Linked DNA regions of Homo sapiens: region 2 is linked to region 1. The links are contacts of gene promoters, found by promoter capture Hi-C in human tissues and cell types (Jung and others, 2019). All regions are on one chromosome and are shown on one strand. Each heading gives the region's core, a stretch centred on a gene start or on the middle of the fragment in contact. The rest is flanking DNA. Distances are from core to core; before and after follow the strand shown. Region 1 holds the start of CEACAM3 (CEA cell adhesion molecule 3). Region 2 holds the start of CEACAM4 (CEA cell adhesion molecule 4).

Evidence for each region. The method cuts DNA at HindIII sites, captures the fragments that hold promoters and counts their contacts. A contact is called where the count stands out against the background at its distance.
Region 2: a contact is called between the fragment with the promoter of CEACAM4 here and the fragment with the promoter of CEACAM3 in region 1, in 1 of the 25 tissues and cell types used here (H1 embryonic stem cells).

What each region holds. Positions count from the first base shown.
Region 1 is chr19:41,792,191-41,798,039 of GRCh38, forward strand. It overlaps CEACAM3 (CEA cell adhesion molecule 3), which reads left to right and starts at 4,397. Exons shown (of 7, transcript NM_001815.5): 1 at 4,397-4,551; 2 at 5,399-5,758. The coding sequence starts at 4,488. The HindIII fragment of the contact is 7,198 bases long and covers 1,459-5,849 here.
Region 2 is chr19:41,625,824-41,631,508 of GRCh38, forward strand. It overlaps CEACAM4 (CEA cell adhesion molecule 4), which reads right to left and starts at 1,251. Exons shown (of 7, transcript NM_001817.4): 1 at 1,077-1,251; 2 at 1-137. The coding sequence starts at 1,140. The HindIII fragment of the contact is 12,628 bases long and covers 1-5,685 here.

The DNA.
Region 1 (5,849 bases), core at 3,147-5,646:
GAGCACTCTGGAAGCCACTGAGCCCCATAGCCCTAGGGCCTAGACCACTATTCCAAAAGGGAAGACTTTTCCATTACTATGACAGACACCCAGGCTGGAGTCCTCTGCCTGCACTCAAAGCTCTAACCCCAACCTCTTTTTCCAGTGCAAACCCTTCTACTCACTAAAAATTTCTCTCCACTCAAACTAGCCTGTTTGCCCTTCCCTGAACGGGGCTTGTGTTTTCCCATCAGCTCAACTTTGCTCACATGCCCAGCTCAAAACCACATTTCCACAGGCCAGACAAGTGCTCAGTTCTTCCCACACGTAGATGAGTGCTCTGCCTCCTGAGAGCCTGCTTAGCCCTACTGGACACTGTCTTGTTGCACTTATCATCTGCTGCCTTATATTGAAGGCCTTCATATGCCTCTCCTGCCTCCACCCCCTGCCCTTCTAAATTTCAAACTCCTTGGCCGCACAGACTGGTGCACTGTTTCCATATCCCTCACGCTATCCAGCTCAGCACTTGGCAAACATTAGCTCACCACAAGAATGCATCCTCAGGTTTTTAAGTCAGACAAGGGCTTCATAGCAGTTCTATTGACATTGGGGATGAACAGTTCCTTGCGGTGGGGGCTGTTCTGTGCATTGTGAGACGCTCAGCAGCATCCACGTGGCCTCTTTCCACTAGATGCCAATAGCAGCCTTCCCTCTCTCCCGTCCCCACCCCGGTATGAAAACCAAAAATGTCTCCAAACATTGCCAAATGTCCCCTGGGCGGAAACCACCCTCAGTCCACAACCACTACTCTATACCAATAGTTCTCCACCTGGCCACACATTCAGACTCACCTGAACATTTACACTCAGCCTGGAAGTCAGGGGGACCTAGATCCAAATCCTAGCTCTGTCACTCCCTTTGCAACCCTGACAAGTCGCTTCACTTTTTTTTACCCTGTTTTATCGTCTTAAGATGAATAAATATCCCTTCTCACAATCTTGTTGTGAAGATTAAATGATCCGCAGCGTGACCTAGAAAGGGTTTAATAAATGGACTGTGTAGAATTTCTAAGTCGCTCCTAAAGCACGAGGGTGAGGAACTGCGGAAAGTTCTCTGCGCCGCCAGGAGGCGCCATCATAAACCACGTCGGTGGGTGGCCGCCAGGCTCCAGCTTTGTTTCCCAGCCAAGCAAACTTTGCAATGTGGGCCTGAGTCTGAGCTACTTCGTAGCTGGAGGAAATGACACTCCTCCTCATCCCCCAAAATAATTCTCAAAATAAAATCGAATCTTATTTTATCTTTTCATGACATACATGCTCAATATGCTTTTCACAGGGGAGAGGGAAAAAAGAAATGGATGAGAATATATGAGGATATTATGAAAGAAATCATATTTTATATGATTTATAATAGATGACTCATTACTTATAATATTACTTGTTAATCATAAAATTACTTATAATAATAGCTGACATGTTTTAAGAACTCCTGTGTCTCAGGCATTGTTCTAAGCACTTCACATTTATCTCATTTTATCCTCACAGAAATCTTATGCATTTTACATTTTTTTACTTTTCATTTTTCAGACTTTCAAAAATATTGTAAAAATAGTCAGAGTTCCAGTATATCCTTCATCCAGCTTTTTCAAATAACCTTAACTCTAAAGCAATTATCAAAATCAGTCACCTAGCATTGATACAAAAAATTTTAAAATATAGAAATATGGGGCCGGGCACGGTGGCTCACGCCTTTAATCCCAGTACTTTGGGAGGCCAAGGAGGGTAGATCACGAGGTGAGGAGATCGAGACCATCCTGGCTAACACGATGAAACCCCGTCTCTACTAAAAATACAAAAATTAGCCAGGCGTGGTGGCAGGTACCTGTAATCCCAGCTACTCGGGAGGCTGAAGCAGGAGAATCTCTTGAACTCAGGAGGTGGGGGTTGCAGTGAGCCCAGATCGAGCCACTGCACTCCAGCCTTGGCGACAGAGTGAGACTCTGTCTCCAAAAAAAAAAAAAAGAAATATTAAAATTTTGCTAATCATCCCAGTCATGTCTTTTTTCTGCTCCAGAGTCCAACCCAGGATCCCACACTGAATAACACTGTCACATTTCCTAGGCCTCCTCCAACCTGGGGGAGTTTCCCACTCTTTCCCTCTCTCAGGACCTTGATGCTTTTGAGGAGGTCTGGTCAGTTGTTTTGTAGAATGCCCCTCAATTTGGGTTTGTCTCATGTTTCCTTGGGATGTTTCAGGTTATGCATTTTGGGCAAGATTAGCACAGAAGCGATGTGTCTTTCTCAGGACATCCCAGCCGGAGCCCCAGGATGTCTATATCTCTCATTACCGATGAGGTTCACTTTAAGCGCTTGGTTCAGGTGGTGTCTGCCAGGTTTCTCTACTGTGAAGTTACTATTCATCTCATTGTAATTAATAAGTATCTTGTGGACAGGTACTTTGGAAATATGCAAATAGCCAGTTTGTTCTTAGCATACTTTTACCAATTAATTTCTAGAATCCAGAGATAATTGTAGCCGATAAACAATTCTTACTGTGGTGTTAGCCAGTGATTTTCTGCTTCCATCATTGCTTCTACACTGATTAACTGGAACGCTGCTGTAAGAAAGAGCTAGTTCTTCTTTCTCATTTATTTATGTATTCACTTATTTATATATATATCAGCATGGACTCTCAAGTATTTATCGGTTGGACTACATTACTATTATTATTGATTATGTTGCTATATTGTCCCCAAATTGGCCATTGGGAGCTTCTTCTAGTTGGCATTTGTGATACTTTCCACACATCCCCATCATTTTTCAAGTTGTGCCTTACTCTCAGGCCCCGCAAGATGCTCCAGTCTCCTCTTGTGGTTTCCTGCCCCAGCCCTGGAATCAGCCATTTCTCCAGGGAACCCTGGTTCCTTTCATGGGAGAATGATGTTTACAGACCATGGGCGCCCATATGCCCATTGCTAGTAGGTGCCGGTGCTTCTATGCCCTCTAGTGGTCAGAGCTGGGAAATAACACACCCACACTAGTGTACTGTTACCCACATTTCACAAATTAGGTAAATGAGGCACAGAAAAGTTAGGCAACTTGACCAACATCACAGAGAAAATAGGTAGTGGAACTGGGAAATGAAAATAATGACAGATGCACCACAAGTTCTAACAAGCAAAAGTAGCTTTTTCACACATCCACATCAGCAGAAAGCCACAAGCCCAATATTCCGGCGTAGACACTCTTTGAAAACCAGAATTCCACAGCAATAACCACGATGACAACCACCATGTACTCAACACCCGCCTGGGCACGGGGCTCCCACAGCAGCTCACTTATTCCCAACAACTCTGCAAGGAGGATTTTACCATCCTCCTTTTACAAATCAGGGAATCAAGGATCATAGAAGCCACGTGACTTGTCCAAGTCAACATAGTTAAGTGACAGAACCATTAGCTGTCCCCAGGTACATCTGGACATAAAGTTCATGTTTATGCCACTGTGTCAGCATTTCCAAAAACTGATTTTAGGCGAAACGTAAGTAAGCTTTTTAAAAACTTTAATACTTATGCGTTTATTTTAATATACATTGAGAAAACATTTAAGCACACATCAAATCTGTAATTTCATGGACAATATTGCATAAGACAAGGATGTTTTGTCTCCAACTCCTGGCCTCAAGCCATCCTCCCACCATAGCCTCTCGAGTAGCTGGGATCACAGATCTGAGCCACCGATCCCTGCTAGGACAGGATGTTTTGTAAACTAAATTTATTTAGAAAAAAGGATGAAATATATAATAATAAAGGTGGTACAAGCTAGAGAGAAAATCATAAAGTCAGCCTAGAAATGTCTGGTGTCTGGATGACATAAAGCTACAGCACTGTGAAGCCTCATTCTCAGTTACTCCCAGGAAATTAGAGTCACATAATGCTGCAGAAAGAACAGCTCAGAATCTTAGATCCGGGCTTTAGCCCTAGATATATCCATTTGTAGGACCCCAGACATCTCTGTGACCTCCTTGCTGGGAGTAAATCCAACCTTCCCAGACATGTGAGAACAGTAAGAAGACCCTGCACACACAAAGGAGTTTCTCCGTCACAGAGAAAATAACACCAGGTTCAGGGACCCCAGGGACTCTGCATGGTGCTGACAGACCCAAGGCCAAGGCAGAGCAGAGGTCCACGCTGGGGAGGGAGGGTCATCCTGTTATGAAACAGGGATCCAAGTAAGCCTTGCTTCTCAGAGCCTGGTCTGGGGAACTCAAATGTAGACAGAAGGGAGAAAGGAAGAAGAGAAAATGAGGCAAAACTGAGAGGGGAGGGGACAGAGAGGTGACCTGGGCAGAGCTTCACCCATGACCCTGGAAAGTGCTCCTGCCCTGGGAGGAGGCTCAGCATGGAAAGAGGAAGGACAGCAGAGCCTAAGTCACAGTAGCCCTGACTACAGCATTCCTGGAGCCCAGGCTCTTTTCCACAGAGGAGGAAAGAGCAGGCAGCAGAGACCATGGGGCCCCCCTCAGCCTCTCCCCACAGAGAATGCATCCCCTGGCAGGGGCTTCTGCTCACAGGTGAGTGGAGGATTCCTGGGAGTGGGCAAGAGGAGGGATCACAGAGAATGGCTGGGGTCTCCTGGGGAGGATGGGGCTCTGATAGGGGACAGAAGGCTTCTGCTGAAGCCTCAGGGGAGAGAACATCAGAGAGGGACACGGGTCACAACAAGACAATCACATTGAACTGGGATTGATAAGAGGGAGGAAAATCCATTGATCATGTTTTCCAAGTTAATCATTACTGGCCACTACAATTAGAAAATGATAAGAATAAGAATTACATCAGGGTGATACTTTAAATAAAAATATAACCAGGGCACTAAAACCTGTCTTTGACCACCAACCACAAGTTGCAAAATAACCACCACTCCTTAACTCATCCACCAGTATTTGCAATCAAATTTTAGGCACTGGCGTACAACAAATATCAGACAAGTCTCTGTGTTCAAAGAGCTTACACTCTTGCAGAGATGAAGATAGACACCCAAAGAGATCTAGAATGTGAGTTCAGGTGTTGACAAGAGCCCTGGAGGGAACAGAGCAGAAAAAGGTCAGAAAGGGAAGACCCAGGGTCTCTAGAGGAGGTGTCAGGGGAGGGATCTCCCAAGGATGCCCTGATGTGAGCAGGATCTGAGGGCAGTGGGGAGGGAGCCATGCAGACCCCTGGGGAAGGGGATTCCACACAGGAAAATGCCAAGGTTAGAGGTGCTGAAGAAAGAAAGGTCACGTTACTGACCTTGACCAAGTGGGACACACATACACTCTCCAAGGCTGAAGGGTGAAGAGACTCTCTCAGGACCCAGGGCCCCATCTTTCCATCCCAATACATGGGTCCCAATATTGACTGATGCTTTCTCCCTCCTAGCCTCACTTCTAAACTTCTGGAACCCGCCCACCACTGCCAAGCTCACTATTGAATCCATGCCGCTCAGTGTCGCAGAGGGGAAGGAGGTGCTTCTACTTGTCCACAATCTGCCCCAGCATCTTTTTGGCTACAGCTGGTACAAAGGGGAAAGAGTGGATGGCAACAGTCTAATTGTAGGATATGTAATAGGAACTCAACAAGCTACCCCAGGGGCCGCATACAGCGGTCGAGAGACAATATACACCAATGCATCCCTGCTGATCCAGAATGTCACCCAGAATGACATAGGATTCTACACCCTACAAGTCATAAAGTCAGATCTTGTGAATGAAGAAGCAACTGGACAGTTCCATGTATACCGTGAGTATTTCCACATGACCTCTGGGTGTTGGGGGTCAGTTCTACTTCCCACATATGGGATTGTCAGGCCTGGGCTGTGCCTGTGGCCCTC
Region 2 (5,685 bases), core at 1-2,500, 170 kb before region 1:
CCAATAATAGGCTTGAATAGTTTCTGAAATATTGCAGGCCAGTAGAAGAACATCCTTTCCCTCTGCAGCACTGGACGGCAGGGCTTCAATAGTGAACTGGACAGTGGTGGGCGGGTGCCAGAAGGTTAAAAGTGAGGCTAGGAGGTGAAGACAGCATCAGTCAATACTGGGACCTATGGAGTGGGATGGAAAGATAAGGCCCTGGGTCCTCAGCAGGTCTCCTCATCCCTCAGCCTTGGAGTGTGTGTGTGTGTGTGTGTGTGTGTGTGTGTGTGTGTGTGTGTGTGTGTGTGTGTGTGTGTCCCTGGGTCAGCAGCATGACCCCCATTCCTTCAACAGCTTGGACCTTGGCATTTCCCTGGTGGAATCTTCTTCCCCAGGGGTCTGCACGGCTCCCTCCCCACTGCCCTCAGATCCTGCTCACATCAGGGTGTTTTTGGGAGACCCCTCCCCTGACACCTCCTCTAGAGACCCTGGGTCTTCCCTTTCTGACCTTTCCCAGCTCTGTTCCCTCCAGGGCTCTTGTCAGCACCTGACCTCACATTCTAGATCTCTTTAGGTGTTTGTCTTCCTCCCCATGAGAGCGTGAGCTCTGTGAGGGCGGGGACTTGTGTGATCTTGGTTGCACCCCAGTGCCTGGCACAGGCTGCAGACTCCTGTAGATGAGTTCATGAGCATTCTCAGGGCCTCCAAGTCCTGAGGTTTATTTCCCAGTGTCTGAGGTTGTTGGCTAAGAGCAGTGTTTTATGCCCTGGTTATGTTTTTATTTGAAGTGTCATCTGGTATAGTTATTATCATTTTTCAAAATGTAGTGGCCAGTGATGATTAACCAGGACGAGAGAACACTTGAGATTTTCCTGCCTTTTACCAATTCCAGTTCACTGAGATTTTCCTGTTGTGACCCCTGCCCCTCTCTGATGTTCTCTCCCTTATCCAGCCTCCAACAGAGGCCCTCAGTCCCCTCTCAGAGCCCCAGGAGACCCCAGCCAGAAGCCCTCTATCCCCTCCTACCCAAGAGACCCCAGTCAGTCTCTGTGCTCCCTCTTCCCACCACTCCCAGAGAGTCCTCCCCTCACCTGTGATCAGGAGCCCCTGCCAGGGCCTGTGCCCTCCACGGGGAGCGGCTGAGGGGGGGCCCATGGTCTCTGCTGCCTGCTTGTCCTCTGTGGAGAGGAGCTGGGCTCCAGGAACGCTCTTGTCAGAGCTGCTGTGACTGTCGGCTGTCGGGGCTGCTGACCTTCCTCCTTCTGTGCTGAGCCTCCTCCCGGGCAGAAGCACTTCCCAGGGCCAGGGGCAGAGGCGGGGCTCTTCCCAGGTCACCCCTCTGCCCCTCCCCTCTCATTTCTGCCTTTTTTGTCCCTCCTTCCCCTTTCTCTTCTGTGTACATTACAGTTTCCTAACCACACTTTGAGAAGCAGGGTTGGTGGAGTCCCCTGTCCCCAGAGAGGGTGACTTGTCACCCCTGCACTGACCCTTTGGGAATGTCACCACAAACAGAGGTACTCTGGGGTCTCCCAAACTTGGGGAACTGTTTCCTTTTGTGACACAGAGACCCAGCTGGGCCCCCAGGTCTCCTCATGCTCCCCAATACTCAGGGAGTGTGAGATGATACCCAGCAGGAAGGTGACAGAGGTGGCTCTGTGGGATAGAAAATGGGGGGCGACTACGGGGGGGACCAGTCCTCTCTCTCCAGTGTCACCAGCCTTGCCTCTGACCCAGGGACAGAGATCCAGGCCTGGGGGTCTCAGGAGGATCCCCAGCTCCTGGATGTGGAGGGAGGTGTCCTGCATGTCCTGGGAAGAGAGGACTGTGGTGGAGGGAGGTGGGTGGCTCTGGGTTCTGCTGTCCTTGAGGAGGGATTCAGGGAGATCCTCCCTCTCCGTTTCTGTTGGCTGAGCTGTGGCTTAGGGCCTGTGCATGTTCTCCCTTACCATCCCGGGTGGCCTCTGTCCTCTGTGAAGGTGATTGTCCTGTTGTCACTGTACCTTCCCCATGCATGATACCAGGAGAAAGTGGAGAACTGAGCAGAGAATCCTGGCAGAGCAGGATCCTCAGAGGCTCCAGGAAGGATCAGGAGAGACAGAGCAGGCACATGGGAGGGACTGGAAGGGCCTGCTGGAGCAAAGTATGGAAACCAGGCTTCACCTCCACCTCCTTAGCAAAGCCAGATTCCTGTCCAGGGGAATCCATTTCCTGTGTTGTCTGCGTGCAATGTTGCCCCTGGAGAGCAAGAGGAACCCTGTGGTAAAAGTCAGGGGCTTCCCCAGGGATGCTGACCAGGGTCCACGTGGTATGAGTTGGCCCTGGCCCCTGGGCAGAGGTGGGCTCTGACCTCCAGACTGCAGGGTCAGGTCATCCTTGGTCCTGTTCACTGTGGGTCCCCAGGATGTCCAACTCCATGCAGTGCAGGATGAGCTCAGGGAGAGGACGAGAGTTGTCCAGAGCACTCCTGGTCCTGATTTGGGAGAACTGTCCTGCAGGCGGATGGGCTGCCTCAGAAAGAGCCATCCGTCCCCAAGGTTTCAAAAGAAGGGCCCAGGGAGGTGTCTCTGGGGGTTTAGAGAGAGGGCACTGGCCTGGGAGGTGGTCCTCGGTGTGTTCTGTGTTCCTCCATCACAACACTGGGAGTTCCGCCTCCAGGTCATCTGTGTCCCTGTCTGTCACCTGCCCCAGGCCTCTCCACAGGGCCCAGGAGCTGGGGCAGCTCCTACCTGCAGGCTGCAAGGGATACCTGGTTCCTGTATTAGAGCAGGGGAGGCCCCGTGACCCTCAGTCCCTCTGAGATGGAAACAAAGGCAGATCCTGGGTTATCCTGTCCCCTCCTGCAGGAGAAGTTCCCCTGGATCCCCTGGTGAAATGTCTGCAGGGACCATAGGCAGATGTCCCAAATACTGGGGATCTCGAGGCTGGGGAATCACTCCCTGACTTTCTTGTGGTCATTCTGCCCTGGTGGAAGATCCACCTGGGATCGAATATCCGGAGTTTGTGTCAGTTTTGGTGTGTTTGTGAGAAAGACATATGTTAGAGCCTGGAGGGAATGTCAGTGAATGATGTCAGGGAATGAATTGGGTTTGCCCCTCACTGTTAGAAAGACCCTGAATTCCCTCCCGATGCTACTAGGGTAAAAGCCATGTTCTTATGCTCATTTCTCTAAGGAAATGCAAATAGAGTTTATTAAGGCGTTTCTGGCCAACTAAGGTGGATTTTGTCATGTAGACACAATATAGACCATAATACATGTACATATGCAAAAACACACCTAAACACATATCCACAAACAAATAAAAATCTTACAGCTTTCATTTTAGAATTTTAGTGATGAGATAGTAATACAAACTCACTAGTTGATTAAAGTCAACTGGATCCAATTGTATTTCTGACAAATTGGAATCGTTAACATGGATAAACTTTATTTGCCCCTATAGGTAATATAATGAAGGCTGGGGGAAATATTTTGGGTAAAGCAGTTTCTAATGGCAGTGTAACTTATAAACAAATAAACAAATGAAACCTCTACAGTTTCAGCATCTTTTTTTTTTCTGTTTCACATGAGTTTAGGATTAAATTTTCAATTGCTTACACTTTAGCTAGAACTGGCTGAATTGTATAAGAAAAAAAAATCTCCAACTAGCCTTAAACTAGATTTTTTGTGTGGGTTGGAGGGGGGCGGGTGGTGGTGATGTGGTTTGCTTGATTAACAAATGTGGATGAGGAAGGATTTTAGCTTTTTTTCCTGGCTTTTTCTTTTTTGCCTCTGCATGGCAAAAGAAGAAAAAAGTTTATGTCGGACAGAGACACCTTAAATTATTGCTCTGAGTTCAAGATTTTGACCTGTATGATCTGAGAGCCTAACTTTTATAACCATGTATTTTTTTAATTATTGATTTTTAATTGTGCTCCATTATAAGCAATTATTAGTTAGACAAACTTAAATTTACATTTCCTAAAGGTGTCTAAGTTGTTTCTTATCATGGAGTTGTTTAATTTGTAAAGCCATTAATTTTAAAGCCCTTCAAGATTTCTTTTTTAAAACTCTGGGCTAGAATGCCATAAGCAGTGAGTTTTATCTCAACACCAGTAGAAAAGTCAGCAGATTCAAAGTAGGTAGAGAAAAAAAAATAGAGAATTTAGAAGACTCTACATTTCCACCCTATAGATGCAGGGCTTTTTAAAACAGGTTGAATGATGATCATTGAGTACTGAATTTTCCTTGATGTAATTTTGCTCATAAACTTTAAAATGTGCACAAGAAAGAACCATAAAATGTAGCCAGCTGGAGCCCCAGAAAACCTGGCATGCCTTAATGCTTGAGAGCCCCATTCCATTTCTTATTAATCTCTTGAAAGTGAAGAAAATTTTACAAATCCTGCCAGAGAATGTCAGGCATTTGTACCAGTGTTTTAGATGGTGGCAACCACGCTAGTGGCTGTTAATTAGCCATTTTGTGCCCGTCATTTAGAATGTCTATTTTTTTGTGTTCTGGGATGATTTTCAGAAGCAAGCAAGGGGAAAAGAGTCAAACCAAATAAAAAGAAATCCAGATAAGAGCATTCACAAGAATTTTAACCCAGGCATGCAGATTTTTAAAGTATTTAAATTAGGCACACAGGCCAAAATGGAAGTAAATTCACCAGAATAGACTTGCCTCACAGGCAGAATGTAAATTTTGTAGAATCCAGAGTACGTGATCTAGAAAGATATACGCCTTTCTCTCAGAAAGGACTTGCTAGAAAAGACAAAAAGTTTTTTTTTTTTTTATCATCCCAGGAGAAATGTATGGTCTTTTACTAAGGCAGCCTTATCCAAATCAGATTCCAAATAAAGTCAAGAGCTTCTACCAAAAAGAGGCTCTGCTTGAGCAAAGACTTGTCAGGGCAGGAAAGGTGAGTGTGGAAGCAGAGAGCTCAAACTTCTCAAGTGAGTAGTGCACACTGGTTCAAAGATCACAGATTTCTTCTGATAGTGATCTTTCCCAGATCCCACTTCTGACACCATATATGGTAACAAACAGAGTGAGGCTTTCTATGAGAAACTGATGTTTATTTGGGAGTAGCACATTTCAATGGAAATGCATGTGCCATAGTAAAATGATCTACATATTCGAGTTTTTAAAGGAAAAAATTGGGATTATTATCTAGTCATTTTGAAAAAAAAAAAAAAAAACTAGCTACAAAGATCAATAGCCAGAATGATGCCACTGTGAGGTTCTATAGGCAGTTGCTGGGCAGATGTCCTTGCAGAAGTAGTTTTCATATAAGGTTGTGATGGCCTTTGTATAAACTTGTGGCTTTTGCAGAGTCTTTTGTGATAGTTTTGTTATCAGGCATGAGGATCCTCTCTTCATGGTCTTCTCTGGCTCTATTTGTCAGAGTTTTTTTTCACACTAGTGACTCATTTTGACTCTGACAACTTTCACATCTGTTAATACTTAAAGAATAAATAAAATTAAAAAGACTGAAGTCTAGTAGAAAAGTAGGCAAATATATAAACAGTTTACAGAAGAAAAAACAATTTGAATGATTCGTAGACATATGAACAAAATACCCGCACACATGCAGGAGAAACGGACATTGATATTATCCTGGAAAGGTGAGGATCATAATATGGCCCAGTGGTTTTAAATGCTGAAAAATTCCATTTGATAACACAACGTGTGGGAAGAACTTTGGTAAAAATTGTACTTCC